Linked DNA regions of Homo sapiens: regions 2 and 3 are each linked to region 1. Evidence: promoter capture Hi-C in 16 types of primary human blood cells and fetal thymus (Javierre and others, 2016). All regions are on one chromosome and are shown on one strand. The core of a region is centred on a gene start or on the middle of the fragment in contact, and the rest is flanking DNA. Distances in the headings are between cores, read along the strand shown. Region 1 holds the start of KEL (Kell metallo-endopeptidase (Kell blood group)). Region 2 overlaps LOC124901764 (a long non-coding RNA gene). Region 3 holds the start of PIP (prolactin induced protein).

Region 1 (3,817 bases), core at 564-3,063:
CTCTGATTCCTACTCCCCCCTTAATCAAAATTCCATTGTTCGCTGGCATCACTATTCCCCTAGTCATGCAGAAATGCAACTTGGAGCTCCTCTGTGGCTCTATCATAAACCCCTCCTCCATTCAATCCATTGCCATGACTTTATTCCATACAATTTTTCTTTCTACGCACTTCCCTCCCCTCTGCCATCCCCTTGGGCCGGGCCCTCCCTTCATCACTCCTGCAACACCAAACTAACCACTCTGTTTCTTGTCTTTTATCCAATCAGTCCAGATCCCCAATACCACACCGGCGTTTCTTAGATATTATTGTATCTTGCCACACCTTTCCTCAAAAGCCTTATTTTTCCCAATGCTTTCTTTTCTAATGTATGAAGTTCTGACTTTTCTTTATGACTTTCATGATACCCGACCAGCTGGCCCCAGGGGGCACAATGGCTTTACTCCACTTCTCCACACCCACCCTCATCCTGGCAAGTGCACCATGGCCCTAGCACAGTGCTGATGGAATCTGGAAATATCGCCAGGGGATCATTTGCAAGACTAACCTAATAAATTACATTATTTTTTTCCTGGGATGAGGAAACAAGGACAGAGTTGAAACACCTTCCCCCAGAAATGTGCTTGCCTCTCTCAGACCACAGGTAAGGGCTTAATATGATGTGAGAAAGAGGATTTCTGGCTTGGAATGCAATTCATTTCTATTAACATTTAGAAAGCATCTTGGGTGGGCAGGAATGAAAACCAGACACTGTACATGCTATGACATAGTTTTCAATCACTAAGGAGATGAAGAGGCAAGCTATCAGTGTAACAGAAAGCAGAATGAAAGAAAGAGGGGCTCAGTAAAGCCTTATTCTTTTGTAGAAGGCATGAGATCCTATGAGGTAGGCATAGGCAAGTATTACCCTCATTTTCCAGATGACAAAACTTGCTTACCTGCCTCAGAGTTTAAGTGGCTTGTTTATTGTCACAGAGCTAATAATTAGCAGATTAGGGTCTCCTAGCTGGGTGATCTTTTGAATGCATGACTTTGCCAGCAGCCAGCAGAGCTATGAAACACCGAGAGAAACAATTAAGCATGCTTGGGAACAGTGTGAATGGGCATGGAGCTGGGAGGCCTCCTGGGAAAGGTGGCATTTGACCTGGGAATTGATGAATCCCAGAAAAGCCAATCAGAGAGGTGTGAAAACAAAATTAAAATGGAGACTGGGCCTGAAAAATTCCCAGGCAAACAAAGCCAAAGACCTTAAAAATAGCCATATTCTTGCTAAAACTACAAACATAAATTAAACTTAACTTGGGTCAATTTCTGATAAATGCTTACAACAAATAAAACTTAACCCCAGCCAATGATAAGCAGCCAACTAACATATGATTATGTGACTAGGGACTTTCCAAAAAGTTACCTAAAAAATGCAATTATGTAACTGCAAACTAAGCAAATAATGTTTCATTTTGCTTCTATAACTTCCCAATAAATGCTTGCCTCTGACATTTTGTCATCGCAACACTAAACCTTTGTCGGTCTGGTGCTCCCCAATTCATGAATTGCTTCTTACTTAAATAAACTCTTTAAAATTTTACTGTGCCTCATATTTTTTTTAATACAGAAGAAATGAGAGAAGGAAGAATATTTTAGAAATAAAGGAACTTCATGGGCAGAGTCACAGTGCAAGACAAAAGGAGCAGACCAAGGGCAAGATTGCTTGGGGAGTGAAGACTCCCTCCCTCTTCTCCCCTGAGAAGCTGAGATAAAGGGGGAGGAGAAGCCTGGGTGCCCCCCACTGATAAGCAGGCTCCACCCAGAGGCCAGTCCTGTGTGTCTGGGGACAAGGCGAAAGAGCAGCAGAAGTGCCCCTTCTCCAGGATCAAGGAACTGGGGCGGGGGGTGTTTCCTGGACCCCAGTCCTCCGAATCAGCTCCTAGAGTGGAACCAGGAAGGATTCTGGAGCCACAGAAGATAGACAGATGGTAAGTCCCCTTTTGGAGTCAGAGGCTTAGCGGGGAGGGGTGAGGGTGGCTGTGTGCAAAAGTCCTGCCCCCACTGGAGGGGAGGGAATGTAAGGCTTACAGAGTAGAAAGGTGGGGAGAGAGGGAGGTAATGGGAGAGGGATCGAGAAATGGCACATTCAGGGGACAGGTTCGTTCTGAAGCCCATCTGGGAACACTGCTCCGAGATAAAAATATGTGTGTGGGGGCAGGGCAGGCAGCGAGGGTATCAAAATGGCCTGATAAAACTCTCTTCAATGCACCATTTCCTGAACCAGCTTCTCTCTCCTCCTTCTCCCTCCACTCACTTCAGGAAGGTGGGGACCAAAGTGAGGAAGAGCCGAGGGAACGCAGCCAGGCAGGTGGAATGGGAACTCTCTGGAGCCAAGAGGTAAGTGGCCTCCTCTCCTGGGTCTGGAATACACTGATGTTGTCACTCTCGGCTCTAAAATCCCACAAACACTCATCTACTAACTGTCTGCTTCATCCTCACCCAAAACAGTTGACATTCCTTGTTTTCTCATCTCCCAGGAGTTAAAGTAGGGCTGGGTTTAGGAAGAATTGGGATAATTATTTCTGTATAAAGGGACTGTAGCACCAACAGATTCATTCTCTCTCCTCTTCTTCCCATCCCTGTCTCTCAACCCCCATCTTGTATCTTTCACCTCTTGGTTCCTCCCACAGAGCACTCCAGAAGAGAGGCTGCCCGTGGAAGGGAGCAGGCCATGGGCAGTGGCCAGGCGGGTGCTGACAGCTATCCTGATTTTGGGCCTGCTCCTTTGTTTTTCTGTGCTTTTGTTCTACAACTTCCAGAACTGTGGCCCTCGTAAGCAAGATCCCAGACCCCCTAACCTAGTCAGCCCTCCCCCAGCCCTGGGGCCCAGGCCCAGTCCCTGCTCCTGGGGCTTCTGCCCACCCTGACCCTTGGGGTCCCCATGGTTCTTCTTCCTCCCTGCATCCTAACCATTTCTTTTTCATCAGCTCCCCACTTAGTTACTCACCTGATGTTCTTTGCCTAGCCCCTTGGGGGAGCCCTTGTCTTTTTGCCTCTTCTTTCCCAGCTCTGAGCTTTTCCCCACAGGCCCCTGTGAGACATCTGTGTGTTTGGATCTCCGGGATCATTACCTGGCCTCTGGGAACACAAGTGTGGCCCCCTGCACCGACTTCTTCAGCTTTGCCTGTGGAAGGGCCAAAGAGACCAATAATTCTTTTCAGGAGCTTGCCACAAAGAACAAAAACCGACTTCGGAGAATACTGGGTGAGGAAAGCAGGGTGGAAGATGCTCTGTGCAAGTGGGTGACTCTGTGCCTAAAATGACCATGACTGCTCCAAACCCTGTGTAGTTGTGGAACAACTGATTTGCACCATCCCAGGTGGGATTATACGGGTGGATGATTGGAGATGATGGGGGAGTAAAAGAGGCAGGATGGCGGGAGCTGCCTGGGTTTGCTCATCTCTCACTGTTTCCTGTTGCCTTGCCTTGGGTACCCTTCTTCCGTTTCTCTTGGTCCCTTTCTGCATTTTTTTCTTTATCTAATTTCCATCTTCTTTGCTTCTCCATGTATCCATAATTACTCCATTCTCTCCAACTTGTCCCTTTTAGCAAGCTCCATCTTTGTTGCTTCCTCCAAATGTTCAGTTTCTATCCTATGCATGGTGTTTTCCTCCACAAGCATCTCTTCAGCATCTCCTGCATTTCAATTCTTTTGTCCATCACTCTCATTCTCTAACCTCCAAAACCTCAGTCTCCCAATGACTCCTTGTCAACATTACCCTCTCCCTCTCACCATGCCGGAGCTCCCCTCTCTCACAATGATCTCTTGCTTC
Region 2 (3,817 bases), core at 759-3,258, 240 kb before region 1:
CCATGATAATTCTTAGAATGAAAGACCTCTCATTTGCAAAGGAGAGGATAGTTAGAGCCAGAACAATTCACTTAGCAAAAATTTGGGCCCAAAAATATATATATAGGAGAAGGGATTGTTGGTGGGTAGAGAGGCCTGGAGATCAAGAGCAAGAGATGAGATAAACACAAGTTTGGAAGCCATTGGCTTGTGAGGGGACCTGAGCACTTAGAATAGAGGAGACCCCTCAGGGAGAGCTTGTATGGAGAGAGAGAAAGGTGCATCCTGACCCCATCCTGGGCATTTCTCTTTGAAACTCAGCCTTGTTATAATTCATTTCTAATTCTGATATCAGCAGTGAGGGTTCATCTAATCTATTCTCATCACTTCTTGAGCCTCTCAGCTCTCACTGGTCCTGGCTCTTGCCTGGAGATGATTTTACTCAAAATTCTAGTCCAGGATTTAGAATTGGTCTAAGTACAGATGTGCATCAGGAGGCTATTTCAAAATCCCAGATGAGCTCATACATAAAGTAAGGATTAATTTTTTATTTTGTGAACCAATTGTGTAAAAAAAAAAAAAAACAACAATGCACATTAGGAAAGTAATTCATTTAATTTCCATGACCCAGCCCCTCCTGCCTACAAGCCCCCCTCCCCCATCCCATGCAATCCACCTCATAGGTAAAAACATATTCTGGGCAAACTGACTCATTTCATGTCACATTTATCCCACTCAAGTTTGTCCCTCCTGCTTTGAGCCTGGATTCCACGTAAAGGTGGAAGGTGATTTGGGCTGGTCTCCAGGCAGTCACCACCTGCAACCTATTTTCTTCTCATCACGACACCTACGTTCAGTGTCACCTTTTCTTCTCCCTTGGGCTGCCCCTTTCTTGCTCACTCCCATGTTCCAATGCCAGCAGCTCTGTCTTTGTGCTCAGCCATGCTTGTTGTTCAGCAGCATTCCTCATTAGAATCCCATTATTTGATGGTCAGAGTAGGGTCTCCATGGTGATACAGGCACAAGTGTAGCCAGTATTCTGCCACCGCATCTTACCTACTTGGCAGGCAAGCTAGAGTTGGCCTAAATTCTGCTTTTATCATTTATGTGTTTGTTCTTATGCTTTTAGGAAAAAAAAATCCTGAAATAATGGTGAAGGACAGCAAGTATTTGCCTAGAGTGCATGCTAAGAAGTCTCCATAGATGTTTTTCTTTAAGTATCCTGACCGCTTAACATATTGATGAAGACCTCTTATTTCCAGGTCAACAATCAGCTGTTACCAACTTAAGCTTTCTAAACATTTTCTGTGAAACAAATTTTTGCCAGTAAGAAAAGGAAATTGGGAGCTGCCACTGCTTAATTAATTTGAAGCTTTGATAAGCTTTGCCAGAGAGTCGCATAATAGAATTAGCAAGTTTCTTAACAGGTGAGAAAGCACATGAGCATAAACAAAAATAGGATAAGACTATCATCAATGGGGTTTATGCACCAGCTTAAAAAGCCAGTTTGGGGGACTTTTATGACTCTGAATTAAGATTTGTGCAATATAAGATTGTCCAGGATAAAATATTTTGGGCACCAAATATTAAGCTTCTGAAATAGACCCAGAGGTTCTTGTATGATAAAAAAAAAGTATGTATAAGGTTTTGATTTGATTTTTTAAATAATGTGTTCACTACTTCCCTTTCTTCTGAGACTCCATAGAGAAAAAAATATCATAACACTAAAGAGAAGGGAATGAGGATGGCCAAGAGCAGACTGGAGATTTCATCCTATTTCTTGGTTGTGGACAATCAGAAAAAGCATATTGTAGATGAAGTGGAGTAAAGGATGCTCAGAATATGCATGTCATGGGCCTCTGGGAATGTGGTGGCTGATCAGGCTGCTAGAAGCCTGGAGGGCCTTGGCTATCGGATTCCTAGCTTTGGATAGCAGGAGCGAGACATTGTGCAAAAACCAGAGGCATCATTAAAATTCTGTCTGCCATATAGCTGCATCATTGATGCTTTCCAGTGCCTTCCTTGCCACTGCATACAGAACCATCGAAAACCTTCATATTGAGAATTCTTTTCTAGAAAAATTGAATACATTTCCAAGGAAGAACTAGGGCTTCAAGTGCAGATATTTGCACATAGATTAAACCCTTTTTTTATTATGGCATTTTGAATTTCCAGGCTAATGTCAGATTCCACACCCACATACCTAAAAGAGGAGCCAGCCTGTCAAGGTGGCCCAGTTACAAAAGAGAGCTTCCAATCAGCCTTTCCATTCAGGAGACCGTTCTACTGGAGAATGATACCTGCTTACCCAAAACAGCCTTTCCTTTTCCTTCATGAATTACTAATCAAGGATGATCAGAAATAGGAACAAAATCCACAGCCTGAAAGAGAAAGACCAAGCTAAACACCAAGAGTGAATTACCCCTGAAGAAATAAAGATCAAAGAAGACAAAAAATTTAAGCTTGTGTCCTTAGAGGAGGCACAGAAGATATTGCCTCCATAAAATAAGAGAAGGATGCTATTAAAAATAAACAATTAAGAAATGAGAAGGTGAAAATGTAAATTAGTAAGTCATTATGGAAAACAGTATGGAAATTCCTCAACAGTTAAAAATAGAACTAGCCATATGATCCAGCAACCCCACTACTGAGTATATGTCCAAAGGAAATCACTGAGAGGTATCTGAACTCTCAATGTTTATTGCAGCACTGTTTACAAGAGTCAAGATATGGGATCAACCTATGTGTTCACCAATGGGTGAATAGAGAAAGAAAATGTGTTTTATATATACACAGTGGAATACTATTTAGACATAAAAAATAACTGGAATACGGCCTGCACAGTGGCTCACACCTGTAATCCCAGCACTTTGGGCGGCCAAGGCGGGCAGATTGCCTGAGGTCAGGAGTTCGAGACCAGCCTGGCCAACATGGTGAAACCCTGTCTCTACTAAAAATACAAAAATTAGCCCGGCGTAGTGGTGCATGCCTGTGATCCCAGCTACTTGGGAGGCTGAGGTAGGAGAATTGCTTGAACCCAGGAGGTAGAGGTTACAGTGAGCCGAGATTGTGCCACTGCACTCCAGCCTGGGCAACAGTGTGAGACTCTATCTCAAAAAAAAAAAAAATTGTAGTACTATCATTTGTGGCAACATGGGTAAACCTAGAGAACATTATTTTAAGTGAAATAATCCAGGCACAAAAAGACAAATACTGCATGATCTTACCAATATGTGGAATCTTAAAAAGTTGATCTCATAGAAGTAGAGAGTAGGATAGTGGTTATCAGAGGCTGGGGAAGATAGTGAGATTAGGGGGCAAATGGGGAGAGATTTGTCAATGACTACAAAGTTACAGTTAGATAGGAGGAATTAGTTCTGGTGTTCTATTGCACAGTAGGGTGACTATGTTAGTTAACAATGTTGTGTATTTCAAAATAGTTAGAAAGGTGGGGCACAGTGGCTCAAGCCTGTAATCCCAGCACTTTGGGAGGCCAAGGAGGGTGGATCACCTGAGGTCAGTTCAAGACCAGTCTGACCAACGTGGTGAAACCCCATCTCTACTAAAAAAATACAAAAGTTAGCCAGGCGTGGTGATGCATGCCTGTAATCCCAGCTACCTGGGAGGCTGAGGCAAGAGAATTACTTGAACCCGGGAGGCAGAGGTTGCAGTGAGCCAAGATTTCACCATTGCACTACAGCCTGTGCAATAGACAAACCAACAAACAGACAAACAAACAAAACAAACATCAAAATAGGAAAATTTTGAATGTTCTCACTGTAAAGAAATGATAATTATATGAGGAGATAGATATATTAAATATCCTGATTTGATGATT
Region 3 (3,817 bases), core at 772-3,271, 170 kb before region 1:
GTGAAGTAACTCAGTAATGGAAAACCAAACATCGTATGTTCTCACTGATATGTGGGAGCTAAGCTTTGAGGACTCAAAAGCATAAGAATGATACAATGGACTTTGGGGACTTGCGGGGAAGAGTGGGAGAGGGGTGAGGGCTAAAAGACTACAAATATGGTGCAGTGTATACTGCTCGGGTGATGGGTGCACCAAAATCTCATCACCACTAAAGAACTTACTCATGTAACCAAATACCACTTGTACCCCAGTAACTTATGGAAAAATAAAATAAAATAATAAAAAATTTTAAAAACCCAGCAAACATCTCAATGCACTGGAGGTATTTGTAGGAGCATCTTTGAAGATCCTCCTTCTGTGGTCCCCAGGTAGGGTTTAGGAATTTGTATTTATTTAGCTCCTTAGGAAATTTGGACATATGGCCATGTTTGGGAACTTTAGATACTACTCTACATTTAGACCATACACTGCAATCTGAAAAGGAAAGGAAATGGAGACAAATAAAATGGTCAAATGTTCTTCTTCAGTCAATGAGGACTGGGTTCGGGGCCAGGAGAGTTATTTTCTCGTCCCTAGAAACTCCCGGCTACGGACCTTTGTTATTGTGTGGGACAGAAGGGAATTGAGATTCTTAGCCCACAGTGTCTCACAGCCCCATTTTCTTGGGGCAAAGCATCTTAGAGAGATTCTATTTTTTGGTGCCAACTGCTGTAGTGCCCAGTGCACAGGAAAAGGGTATAAATACCTAAGCAACTTCAAAATCTCTCCCATTTGTATATGAGTTTCAGATTGATAGGATGACCAGCTTAGTTCGAGTGACTAACCATCTCAGTTTACCCAGGACTGAGGTCTTTTCCAGAATGGGTTGTGGAGGTGGCGGGGGAGGGCAGAGTTGCAGTGCTACAACCAGGAAAGTTCTGGGCAAATCAGGATGGATGGTTGATAACCTAATTAGCATAGCTTATTTGAATACCTTGCTGCCCTTCAGGGCTAAGTGGACTGTCATCTGGCGGGAATGGGGTGGGATCTGAACCTGTCCCCATGCAGGGTTTCTTGGGACACTTGCCTCCATTACATTAGCTTGTCAAAACCCTGAACAGTTTCCTCCAGGACAGGATATCTGACCATGCCATAGAGAGTACCTCCAAGATCACAACCCAGAAACCCAGCATTATAAACCCTACTGCTATAGAGAAAACTCCCTAGATTGGGTATCGCTGCTTTCTCCCAGACCCTTGGCTCCATTTTCTACTTTATTTTACTTGCTCCAATTTTTCTGCTTCCTTCACACATGTGTTCTCAATAAGTTGACTTCTGAACCTGTGCTCTCAGGTCCCAGTATACGTGAGAGCAAGAGGTCATCATATTCATCTTCAGACTTCAGGTTAGGAAGAATGTCTAAGCTGCCAGTCTAGCTCAATCTCAGACCACAGGGCAGTGGCCAGGGCCTCTGGTCCTTTAGCCAGTCCTGCCAAAGCTGCCCTAAGCTGCCATTGGAATTCACAGACCTGTTATGCTTCTCTTCTAGGAGGCAAGGTGTGAGAAGGTAAAGTTTACTGAGCAGAAATCTGAACAAAGGTATAAATTATGAACAAGATGTGGATCAGCATGTTAGATGAAGACTAACTACTAATTACAGCCTGTAGGTACATTTGGAGCTTTATTTCCACTGGCAATGCAGAAACACCCAGCAAAAATGTGAGAGGAGTTGGTGGGGCTTCCTAAGAGGACAAGAAGTGGAACCTGGCAGGAGATCCATGGGAGCTCCTGGGACTAGAGTTCTGGGAAGTTGAAAGAAATTCTCAGAAAGAGATATGTAATTTCCAGACTGGGAGAGGAGCCCTCCCTGCAATTTTTTTTGTGGGGAGGAGAAGGGCATGGCTCACGTGTTGTCCTGAGCTTTGTTGGCCCCCAACTGCAGGCAGAGAACCAGGAGCAGGGTGGCAGGGCTGGCCCTGAACAGGAGCTGGAGCAAGCGCATGCTGGAGAAAACAGAAGGCAATGTGTCCCAGAGAAGTGGTGTCCCAGGTGCCCAGCACATTTCTTATATACAGATTGATCAAGGAAGTGCAAGAGCTGCCAGGGAGATCCATGAGGTGAATCACCCATTCACCCTCCCCACTCGTGATCTTTCCTTGTTGACCCAAAGTTTGTTTTTCTAAGAAAAAATCAACACTCAGCTAGAATGTCAGCGTTTGAGAGAGGAGTCAGATTGTTCTTCCTTATTTTTTCAGCATCAGAGTTTCTCAAAATGGCTGGGACCTCAAAAGATACACCAGTTTTTCCCGAGTTTACAGATTCAGTTTTCTTTTCCCTCCTAATTTGCCTGTCTGAAGTGCTATGTGTAGTCTTAGCTTCAGTCACTGCTCCCCTGGTCTCTGAAAGCAGAGAACACAGCTGTGGTGGCAGGTTTCAGACCAGAGACATAGAACATCTTTGCTTGATCAAATTATAGTGAGTTCAAGATGCAATGCTATTCAAAACATTTCTTGGAGGGCTAGGATGATCAGGACTTCCCTAGCAGTCACTACCCATCATGAGGTGGAAGAGCTAGAGAAGACCTGAGCTGCTCTACATGATGGGGAAGTGAGTTCAAGACACTGGGTGATGTAAAGATGTTTATTGTCATTGAGTCCTTCTTAATTTCAGGTGTGGTTGCAATATACTGCAGATGTCCAAGATCCCCAGCTGCCCCACAATCCCCAAGGCAGGGTGATATTTTAATTCTAGACAATTCCTATAAATAGCTGGCACCCCCAAATCAGACTTCTTGGCACCAAAGAGCTGGCTTATTTTCTTATTGACATGGCCACTTTCTTACACTTGTCTCATGCGTAAGCCACACAGGAAGAACCACAGTGGAAAGGATTCCTTCTGTGAGAATGGAGCCCACATTATGTCCAGTAGATACCCAGGTTGTAGAATTCCTCTCCTTGGGATGATGGGGAGACTTGCTCTTGCTGACACTGGCATTGTGTTATTTCTCCTTATGAAATTAAATCTGCTCCTTAACCTATGACTTACAATACTATGGGATTTGTTTCTATCATTTGCATGGCACACAGCTGCCCAGGAAGAGCCTCTCTGGCAACAGAGTGAAAATCAGAGTTCTAGGAGTTACCGCCTCTGTATGTTGCTTTAGCCAGGATTCAGAGCTAAAGTGTAAGTGTGTGCTTCTGCTTTCTGGATGTATCTCTCAAAATTGCTCTGTCTGTTTATTCAGCTCCTGGATCTACCTTCTCTTTTCTTTGAATTGGACACCATTCATGTCATTGCTCACTCAGAACTTCAGCTGTTCTCATGATCACATGCTTTCTTCCCTGTTTATGTCCTATCCACTCAAGAACACTGCTTGTGAGGGTCACAATGACCTTCCTTTGTAAGCCTTTTCCCACAATTAAATTGTCTTTACACCTGGTCCTTCTCACTTGCATAATTTCCATTTGAAGCACATCCTAGCTACACTGACCAAGGCAGGCATAAGGCAGAAGAATCTAGGAAGTGTCTGTGTGGGAAAATGCAGGAAAAGTTCTTTGCTTGGCTCTTTGAAGGCATAGCCCTGTCCTTGAGGATGCAACTCCAGCACTCCCAAAAGGCAGTGTCCAGAGGAAGGCAGATGACGATGGGTTAAGAGCATCTATTGAAGGTAATGAGGCTGTTCTTCTGTGAGCTAGCAGGAAACTGCAATACCTACAATGTACAGGACAATCTTTTTTTTTTGAGACAGAATCTCACTCATCCAGGCTGGAGTGCAGTGGCATGATCTCAGCTCACTGCAGCCTCCACCTCCCGGGTTCAGGAAATTCTCATGCCTCAG

The links. The method cuts DNA at HindIII sites, captures the fragments that hold promoters and counts their contacts. A CHiCAGO score of 5 or more calls a contact.
Region 2: a fragment that was not itself captured here is called in contact with the fragment with the promoter of KEL in region 1 in 1 of 17 cell types (neutrophils); the score reaches 8.2 in neutrophils.
Region 3: a contact is called between the fragment with the promoter of PIP here and the fragment with the promoter of KEL in region 1, in 4 of 17 cell types (M2 macrophages, M0 macrophages, naive B cells and 1 more). The highest score is 6.7, in M2 macrophages.

Annotation. Positions count from the first base shown.
Region 1 is chr7:142,960,359-142,964,175 of GRCh38, reverse strand. It overlaps KEL (Kell metallo-endopeptidase (Kell blood group)), which reads left to right and starts at 1,813. Exons shown (of 19, transcript NM_000420.3): 1 at 1,813-1,972; 2 at 2,304-2,381; 3 at 2,675-2,816; 4 at 3,072-3,248. The coding sequence starts at 1,970. RefSeq lists a silencer at 1,854-2,049. The HindIII fragment of the contact is 12,002 bases long and covers 1-3,817 here.
Region 2 is chr7:143,200,765-143,204,581 of GRCh38, reverse strand. It overlaps LOC124901764 (a long non-coding RNA gene), which reads left to right. Exons shown (of 2, transcript XR_007060567.1): 1 at 1-1,406; 2 at 2,155-2,526. Among named protein-coding and RNA genes, the nearest start is that of TAS2R39, 19 kb to the right of the region's middle. The HindIII fragment of the contact is 871 bases long and covers 1,573-2,443 here.
Region 3 is chr7:143,130,281-143,134,097 of GRCh38, reverse strand. PIP (prolactin induced protein) reads right to left here and starts at 2,021. Exons shown (of 4, transcript NM_002652.3): 1 at 1,887-2,021. The coding sequence starts at 1,981. The HindIII fragment of the contact is 4,172 bases long and covers 66-3,817 here.